3 separate regions of the Homo sapiens genome follow, and regions 2 and 3 are each linked to region 1. Evidence: promoter capture Hi-C in human tissues and cell types (Jung and others, 2019). All regions are on one chromosome and are shown on one strand. The core of a region is centred on a gene start or on the middle of the fragment in contact, and the rest is flanking DNA. Distances in the headings are between cores, read along the strand shown. Region 1 holds the start of SLC22A16 (solute carrier family 22 member 16). Region 2 overlaps CDC40 (cell division cycle 40). Region 3 overlaps WASF1 (WASP family member 1).

Region 1 (3,136 bases), core at 65-2,564:
CTAGTATTAGATTTGTGCTTAGGCAGAAACCTTGGTTTTCTCATCTGTGAAAAGAGGGTGATACTACCAACCTTATAAGGCTGTAGTGAAGATTAAAGGAAGTAACATGTACCAACGGCTTATGACCGAGCCAGGCACAAGGCAGCGTTCAATGATGCAAGCAGAGGAAGAAGGGAACAGCTGGGGCTTCCTGCCCGTTTCCTCTGTCCTAACAGCTCCTTTTTGCAGACACTGGGAATCAAAACCAAAACGCATGCAACCTTCCACCTTGAAGAACAGCACCACATCATCTCTTTGCTAAGCCTGATTCCCGTTTTCTGGATAGGAAACTGACACACAAAGTATCTCCAGAATCATATCAGAGGTAAGTAGCAGGCCAGGATCGAGACGCAGCTCCAAATCTCCGGCCATAACGCTGCATGGCCCCTCACCCGGCTACCTCCCCTCTCAAAACACTCTGAGTCAGATAGAGGAGCTCTGTCCATGAGTGAACGAACGAATGAATAATTTAAATTTTTTAAATCAATTTGACAAATGAAAAGAGGGTGTACGGAGGTTAAACGTGGTTCCACCATGCGTTGGCTATGAGTCCTTGACCCCGCCAGCTTGTTTCCCAATCACTAAAATAAGGATTTGAACACCTCCTTTGCAGGGTCCCGGTGAACATCAAATGAAGAACTATGTGTAAGCGCCAGGTACAGTGTACCTGGCACGTATTAGGTTTTAATAAACGGCAACCAACTCTGACTAACGGTTGTCCCTGGGGAACACCTGCCAGGCACAGAGGGAGGCCCTACGGAGGCGCAGGGCAGAACTGGGCAGCAGCCGTCTAGGGAAGTGGCGGCGGATTAGAGAAACGGGCGGCCAGGCACAGGCACCCCCTACGAGTGAGATCTGGCCCCTCGAGCCAGATCTCCAGCCAGATGCCTCCAGCATCTGCTGCCGCGGAGAGCACGCACCAGGTCCCTCCTGCCCGGCAACAGGCGCACTCCGAGCGAGCCCAGCGCCTCTGCTCACCATGCCAGGTCCCGCTGCCAGAGGCCTAGAGGAGAAGCCCAGCTAGGGGCCGGCGTCTGGACGCCCGTGTCCCGACTGCGCGGGGTGAGGAGGAAGTGGAGATGTTTTCGGATCGCGAGCGCCGCGCGAGAACCCCGCCGCAACGGAAAGAAACAGACCCCTCGGCGCCGCCTCCCGCGTGGCGCCGCGGGGCCCCTCCCCCATACCTGCCGAAGTGCCCCACGTGGTCATAAATCCCCTCGAAGTGGCGGGACCCCATGGTGCGGCCGTGCACTGGGCGCCGAGTTAGCCGAGCTCCGGGGACTGCGGGTAGCGCGCCCCGCCCCGAACCTCCCCGCCCGGCCTCCTGCTCTCCCCGCGCGTCCCAGTGCTCGGGACCAGCGCGAGGCTGTATTCTGTTCCTCCCTCCGTCGCTTGGCCCCTCGGTCCCCCCAAGTATCTTCGGCTTTTTTCCTGCCGCCTCGGCCTCCTTCCCGGCGCGCTGTGGTCCCGGCGCCCGCGGTCGCATGGTGCCCTCGCCCCCAGCGCCGCCGCTCTCCCACCCGCCCCGCCGCCCACCCTGGCTCTTGGCACCATGTCTGCGGGGTCGCCACGCTCGAGGGAAGCCCCGACGCCTGGGAAAAGTTGTCGCTGAGAGAGAGCCCAGGGTGGGAATGCAAGGGCTAGGCTCGGTCCGGGGGCCGCAAGAATATATAGCCTTCAGCATGACGCCCCTCAGAAACATGGCTCTCAAACTTTAATGCCTAAGAATCTACTGCAGAACTTGGTTTAAAAGGTACATTTAAGGCCGGGCGCACTTGCTCACGCCTGTAATCCCAGCACTTTGGGAGGCCGAGGCGGGCGGATCACCTGAGGTCGGGAGTTCAAGACTAGCCTGACCAACATGGAGAAACCCCGTCTCCACTAAAAATACAAAATTAGCCGGGCGTGGTGGCACATGCCTGTAATCCCAGCTACTCGGGAGGCTGAGGCAGAAGAATCGCTTGAACCCTGGAGACGGAGGTTGCGGTGAGCCAAGATCGTGCCATTGCACTCCAGCCTGAGGAACAAGAGTGAAACTCCGTCTCAAAAAAATAAAAGTACAATTAGGCCGGCGTGGTGGCTCAGGCCTATAATCCCAGTGCTTTGGGAGGCCGAGGCAGGAGGATTGCTGGAGCCAAGGAGTTTGAGACCAGCCTGGGCAACGTATAGCGACACCTCGTCTATACAAAAATAAAAAATAAATAAATGTACATTTATTTTGAGACTCCATCCCTGATGATTCAGGATGCCTGGGGAACAGGAATCTGATTTTTTTTTTTTTTTTTTTTTTTTTTTTTTTTTTTTTTTTTGAGACGGAGTCTCGCTCTGTCGCCCAGGCTGGAGTGCAGTGGTGCAATCTCGGCTCACTGCAAGCTCCACCTCCCGGGTTCAAACCATTCTCCTGCCTCAGCCTCCCAAGTAGCGGGGAGGTGCCCGCCACCACGTCCGGCTAATATTTTGTATTTTTAGTAGAGACGGGGTTTCACCGTGTTAGCCAGGATGATTTCGATTTCCTGACGTCGTGATCCGACCGCCTTGGCCTCCCGAAATCTGATTTTTAATAAGCAGACCATGGCATTCCAAGCCACACTTTGGAGTGGGCAGGGGTTTGGCCCATAGCCAACCCAGGCAGGGGGTGACCTTCCTTCTGGAAGGTATCAAGTGAATGAACTTTAGGGAAGAAAGGTCAATTGCTGGTCCACAGCGCTGAAGCAGAAAAGCCAGTTTCCGACTATATCCACAGTGAGAGTTGCCTTCTCTAGTCAGCCTGGCAGTCACTGGCCCCACTGTTGGCGTGCTATTCCACTCTATAAGGCCACTAAACCTTGAGTTCCTAGAGAACAGGGATGCATTCTCTTCGTCACTTTGGTAGCCTCAGTTCCATAGCAAATGCCCTCTCTCTGAACTTCTCCACCTCATCCTTAAAATCTGAGCACACCTATCGCTTTCTCAGAGAAGTCCAACAGTTTGAGGGCCAGGGCAGAGCTCTACCAGAGCAGAGCATCAAGAGTGGGTCTGATGGCTCCGAGAAGCGGCAGGATCTTGCAAGGCTGTGTTGAACATTTTACTTTGACCAAAGGACAAGGAGAACTCCCTG
Region 2 (2,927 bases), core at 235-2,734, 270 kb before region 1:
CATGAGTCAGCGTATATGGTAGATTCATGTAGATTGTTTTTTAATAACTCTGGGGTCACTTGAACAATCATCTTTCTTTAACCATATAAAATAAAATTAAACATATGTTCATATTTCTTTAGAAAATGTACATCTTTGTAATCTCTCAGTTTTTTTTTTAATTTTTTTTTTGTTAACGTAGGTTTAACTGTATTTGAAACTGGTCAGAAGAAAACAGAAAAGAGGAAAAAGTTTAAAGAAAATGATGCATCCAATATTGATGGTTTTTTGGGACCATGGGCAAAATATGTGGATGAAAAAGATGTAGCCAAACCTTCAGAAGTAAGCTTTGATGTTTTTAATTGTCAATTCAGGTATACGCTGTATCTCTATGAAGGATATCTACATTAATAAACTTGAGATTTCTTTAGAGAACCAAATGACTCATCAAAATTTTTCTGCCTTTAGTTGATTGAAAATATACAATAAAATTTATTTGTTTTTCTTTGGGATATTTTTATTTACCTTTTCTGCTGATTTGTTTTCTCTCATGCTTTTTTATTAAAATACAATATTGAACAATTTTCATAAAGATTTCCTTGATATTGCTATTAAGCTGCCATGGTAGCTACTCTTCTGATACTAGACATTCAGATAGTAACTACAAAATCAGCCTTCTGTGACACTAGAATTGATTATAAATTTTATTGATTTATGAATTTATTTAAAATTTTCAACAAATTTTATCTCTATATATATCTTAAAAACTACTATAAAGTTTGTAAAGTAAATGCTCTGCCGTTCCCTTCCTCACCTCCTAATCTCACTGTCTCCATGAGCCAGAGAGTGTTCTAGGTCCCAGGCATACAGCAGTGGACAAGATCAAGAAAATCATGACCTCATGAAGCTTATATTCTAGCTGTTACTTACATCCAGTAAATCCATGTTTATAGTAATAGAAATAAACAGGTGATATCTAAGATGAATAAACTTATTCTACTATTTTTTATTTTAGATTTTATCTGTTGACTTGTTATTATAGATAGAGATTTACTACTACCCCATCTTCTGTCCCCAGCTCCTCCCAAAAAAATTGTGTCACAAATGTATAGCTATCACTTATATCCTTAGGAGTATGTAAAAACAATTAACTGAAAAACAACATTATGTGCTAAAATTCAGTTTCCATTCTGAAACTAGATTTTCTGATTGCCTTGTCTTTTTACTTGTATAACTAGTATAACATGTTAAAATTTATTTCTAGGTGTCACAGAAGGATAAGTTTTGAAAACTGATTTTATATAGTTGAAAAGTATTATCTAGTATCCATTATGTATTTAGTACCATTTCATAATTTGTGGAAGAGGTAATCAGTCTCTGCTTATAGAAGACTTGAGCTTGGCCGGGCCTGTAAGCCCAGCACTTTGGGAGGCCGAGGCGGGCGCATTGCCAGAGCTCAGGAGTTCGAGACCAGCCTGGGCAACACAGTAAAACCCTGTCTCTACTAAAACAGAAAAAATTAGCCAGGCGTGGTAGTGTGCACCGAGTAGTCCCAGCTACTCGGGAGGCTGAGGCAGGAGAATTGCTTGAACTAGGAAGAGGGAGGTTGCAGTGAGCAGAGATTCGCGCCACTGCACTCCAGCCTGGGCGACAGTGCGAGACTCATCTCAGAAAAAAAAAAAAAAAAAAAAAGTGTTGAGCTTGTTATCCTGGGAACATACTCGGACCAGATATGTAGAAGTCATTATAAAGAATTTATAACCAACTTTAGGTATAATGAGGTTCTAGAACATTCATTTTAAATTTCACTCCTTAATTTTCTTAGGAAGAGCAAAAAGAATTGGATGAAATCACAGCAAAGAGGCAGAAAAAAGGAAAACAGGAAGAAGAGAAACCTGGGGAGGAGAAGACAATCTTACATGGTAACATATTTTTTGTACATCTTCATTTTTATGAAAAACCTTCATATTTACTCTGTTCGCTGTTCATACAATATCAATTACCCTTACTATCAGCTGTAATAAAATCATTATGTTAAGTATAATTGTGTTGGACAATTTGTATCCCAAGGAAATTACAGCAGACTTCTGTATACTGATAAAGGAGAAAAAATAGCATGATTAATGATAGCCACAGATAATTTTTTTCCAAGTGTGAATGAATTTTATTAAATGGTAGATAAAAAGAAACTTGAATAGTCCACAATCTATTCTTTCGTAAGATAAAGTTGACTCTTTTGGTGTATTAATAGTGCCCCAGTCATTTTAAATGTTTTTAATGAAGCCAAATACTCAGGTATCCTCACAGTTCATAATCGTTATTCAGCTATATTCAGAATAAACTTGGATTTTCGTGTGAAAAGATGGAGCTTAAGGCTCTCATACTTATTTTGACTTGTAGAAGGAAATGCATATTCACCAAAACAAATCGTAAGTATTCTAGAATGTACCTGTTAATAATTAGTTATATTTAGGAAAATACATAGTGATTATCTAAAACTGTAAAGAATAGCTTAGCATTTACAGTGTTGCTTATTCTAATGTTATATTACATCAGATATTTAGGTTTGATGAAGCCATATTTGGTTCTTCAAGCTTCAGTTTTATCTCCAAGGAGTCTATTTAGTACTATGGTACTTAAAACTATAATAACAATAATATAAAAATAACATTTATTGAGTACTTACTCTGTGCCAGGCATGCTGCTAATTGCTGTATATATACTATGTCATTTAATTCTCACAGGTGACTTTATTGTAAAATTTGTGATGAAAGTGGGAAAAGATAAATGAAAAGGAACTGGAAGGGCATAAGAGAGGAAAGCAGGGGAAAAGGATAGTTGATATATTTTGTTTTGTTTTAACTTCCTTCTTAACCTGTTTTATTTCTGCTTCTTTACCAGTGACTAACAAGGCCCAAGTATTATCTTCCCTTGCTATAATTATGCCA
Region 3 (3,072 bases), core at 424-2,923, 300 kb before region 1:
GAAAAAAACAATGAAACTAAATGAAGATTCCTTGAAAATAACAAAATTGATAAATTTGTAGTTGTGTATTATGATGTACCACACAGGGCTTTTATTTTGGTTTAAAAAAAAATCAGTGCCACTATTCAAAATAGCAAAGATATGGAATCAACCTAAGTGTCCATCAATGGATAATTAAAGAAAATTTAAATGCAAACAATGAAATACTACTCAGCCATTAAAAAGAATGAAATAATCTCTTTTGCAGCAACATGGATGGAACCAGAGGCCATTATCCTAAGTGAACTAACTCAGAAACAGAAAGTCAAATACCATATTTTCTCATTTATAAGTGGGAGCTAAATAATTTGTATACATGGACATAAAGAGTGGAATAATAGATAATGGAGACTCTGAAGAGTGGAAGGATAGATGGTGGGTGAGGGGTGAGAAATTACTTAATGGGTACAATGTACACTATACTAAAAAGCCAGGCTTTGCCACTATGCAATATATCCATGTAACTAAACTGTACGTGTACCCTCTAAATCTATAAAAATAATTTTAAGAAGTGAGTGCTAGTCTTCATCCTCGACTAAAATATAAAATGCTTCACTGTTCCTCCCTTTTCGTTTAACCCTTTCACAATTCTCTGGCATAACCTGTAGCACATGCATGTTATAAAAATTTAGCAAATTTAACAAATTTAGCAAGATGTCCCTATTAAAACAACTAGAAAACAAACTTACTTTTGTAGCATAAGGTGAAAACATAACACACTTGACTTTTTTGGTAAAGGAATCAAACAAGTTATTCCATGCCCTGACACATAAGCTTTTCTTCTTTTCAAATAAGTTAGTCAATGTAACTTTATTGGAGTAGACCTGGCTAGGTTAGGAATAAAGAATGGCTACATGCTGGACTAACTACTATCAAGCACACCAAATTAAAAAAACAAAAAAACAAAAAAACTTTGCTGTCATCATCATCCAACAGATGTCATCACACCCAAAACCCACCTACTTAGAATTTCTTTAGGACCTTTAGTTTAAGAAATGGTACCTTTGCAGCATAAGGGAGTAGGAAAAAAATGGGACTTTGAAATCACACATATCTGTGCTCAAATTCCACCTCCATTTCTATTAGCCATGTGACCTTGAGCAAATTACTTGATCTATGAGAGGACTCAGTTTGCTGGTTGACAAGTACCACAAATACAATTCTAACAGTTTACGCAAAAAGGAGGACTTATGACAAAGGTAACTAGGATGTCTCTGGAACCCAATCTCAGGACCATGGACAAAGGAACTCAAATACAGTCAGGACTCTGTGCATCTGCTTCTTTGCACTCTTTGTTCTAGAAGCCCTGGCTTATCTAGCCCACAGGGCAAGAAACAAGGCCATTAACAGTTCCAGAGTTTTGTATCTCACAGCTTCAGCAACTGAAGAGAAAACAAATTATTCAACCTCTGGGCATGGAGGACCCAGGAAAAGTTCTGAGTGACTTGGCTTAGTAAAAAAGTGTCTAAAACCAGGCCAATAAACCACAGAAATGAACAGAATTGTGATTGGTATCTCTGGCCCCTTCCAAGCCAAAGTGATCTTTACAAAAGACAGATCTGATCCAGTAATTAACCCGATTAAAACTCTTCATGGCCTTCCCCAATAGACTTAAAATCCTTAACCTCGTTAAACCAAACCTCACGTAGGCCCTCTGCATAGTCTGGCTTCTGTTTACCTCTGCAACCTCATATCAAGTCACAATCCCTCTTACACTAAGCTTTAACTGTTTCACCTGTTCTTTGAATTCTCTTCCTTTTCCACCTAGCTAACTTCCACTAATCTTGCCTCTAAGAAGCCTCCCCTGACTCCCAGTGTAAATCCAGTTCCCTCTTCTTTTCCTTTACAGCATTCACCAAAATTTCTAAGTACAAATGTATTTGTTCAACACCTGTTTTTTACTATACTGTTAACTCCAAGAGAATAGAGACCTGTCCTTTTTAGCACCTACTTGGCCCTCAATAATTATGTGCTGATTATGAACTATGAATCACTGGTTTAACAAGGGGGACCCACTAAATGAACCAATTACAAATGAGGGGACAGTAGCAGGCAGGCAGAATTGTTATTATCAAGTTATTAAAATGACTGCTCCAACAGAAACTTATCAGTAAAAGGGGAGATAAAGCAGTTCTGAAACAATCTGGGCTTCCGCTAGGCAGAACAAACAACTTGTTCAATTCAGTTAACCTTTTTCTTCAATTAAATCCTTATAGGGCTATGATAGCAATTAAACAAGATAAATAATAAATGTGACAGCATCTATACAGAATCTTGTACATCTAGCAAGCAAGCAATGTCACTTCTTTTCCTTTTGGACCATGTTACACATTATTTTTGAATATCACTGATCTCCAAATAATTATTAAATACTCCAATGCATATGACAAAAATAGCTGTTTCATGACCTCTTCCCTCACAGCACCCTGATCTTTCCACATGGAACAGAATGACTTCTCTTTTATTCTGTAGTAATTGCATACACTCAAAATCCATTTAGCTTAAACCAAAAACAGGCACTGGGAACACAAAAATGAAGCAAAGCAAAACAAAACAACCAAACGCTTACAACAAAACTGTCCTCAAGGAGTTCACAGATTCACTTTCTCAATCTGCCTTCAGCTCCATCACATCCATACCAAAGCTCCATAGCACCCCAGGTAAGGCTGCTACAAATACAAGATGCCCCGTATTTTATGGGGCAATAATCCATCTTTATATCTTCATACTCCCACTTCATGACCTCATTCCAAAATTTTTTCCTTAAAAAAATTCTATGGAGACTGACTGGATATGATCTTTCTTCAAAGTATGAATAAAATCTACCCTGACTTTACCAATAGCTCAAAATAAGGAAACAAAGGAAACAATCCAAAAGAAAAATCCTGTTTCTTGACAGTGCTGGGAGTTTATTTTTAAAAATTAAAACAAACAAAAAACCCATCACAAAAATAACGCCTTTAAGAGACTAAAAAATCTTGCTTCTGAGAACAGGCACGTGTGAAAGGATCAAGACTACTTTCTTTTTCAGAG

What was found. The method cuts DNA at HindIII sites, captures the fragments that hold promoters and counts their contacts. A contact is called where the count stands out against the background at its distance.
Region 2: a fragment that was not itself captured here is called in contact with the fragment with the promoter of SLC22A16 in region 1 in 2 of the 25 tissues and cell types used here (aorta and small bowel).
Region 3: a contact is called between a fragment that was not itself captured here and the fragment with the promoter of SLC22A16 in region 1, in 2 of the 25 tissues and cell types used here (neural progenitor cells and thymus).

Annotation. Positions count from the first base shown.
Region 1 is chr6:110,475,299-110,478,434 of GRCh38, forward strand. SLC22A16 (solute carrier family 22 member 16) reads right to left here and starts at 1,315. Exons shown (of 8, transcript NM_033125.4): 1 at 1,224-1,315. The coding sequence starts at 1,276. LOC105377938 (a long non-coding RNA gene) reads left to right here and starts at 219. Exons shown (of 2, transcript XR_942860.3): 1 at 219-364. The HindIII fragment of the contact is 19,647 bases long and covers 1-3,136 here.
Region 2 is chr6:110,208,903-110,211,829 of GRCh38, forward strand. It overlaps CDC40 (cell division cycle 40), which reads left to right. Exons shown (of 15, transcript NM_015891.3): 5 at 182-321; 6 at 1,805-1,901. Among named protein-coding and RNA genes, the nearest start is that of CDC40, 30 kb to the left of the region's middle. The HindIII fragment of the contact is 3,610 bases long and covers 1-2,927 here.
Region 3 is chr6:110,172,385-110,175,456 of GRCh38, forward strand. All of the region lies in intron 2 of WASF1 (WASP family member 1), which reads right to left. Among named protein-coding and RNA genes, the nearest start is that of WASF1, 5.7 kb to the right of the region's middle. The HindIII fragment of the contact is 5,240 bases long and covers 1-3,072 here.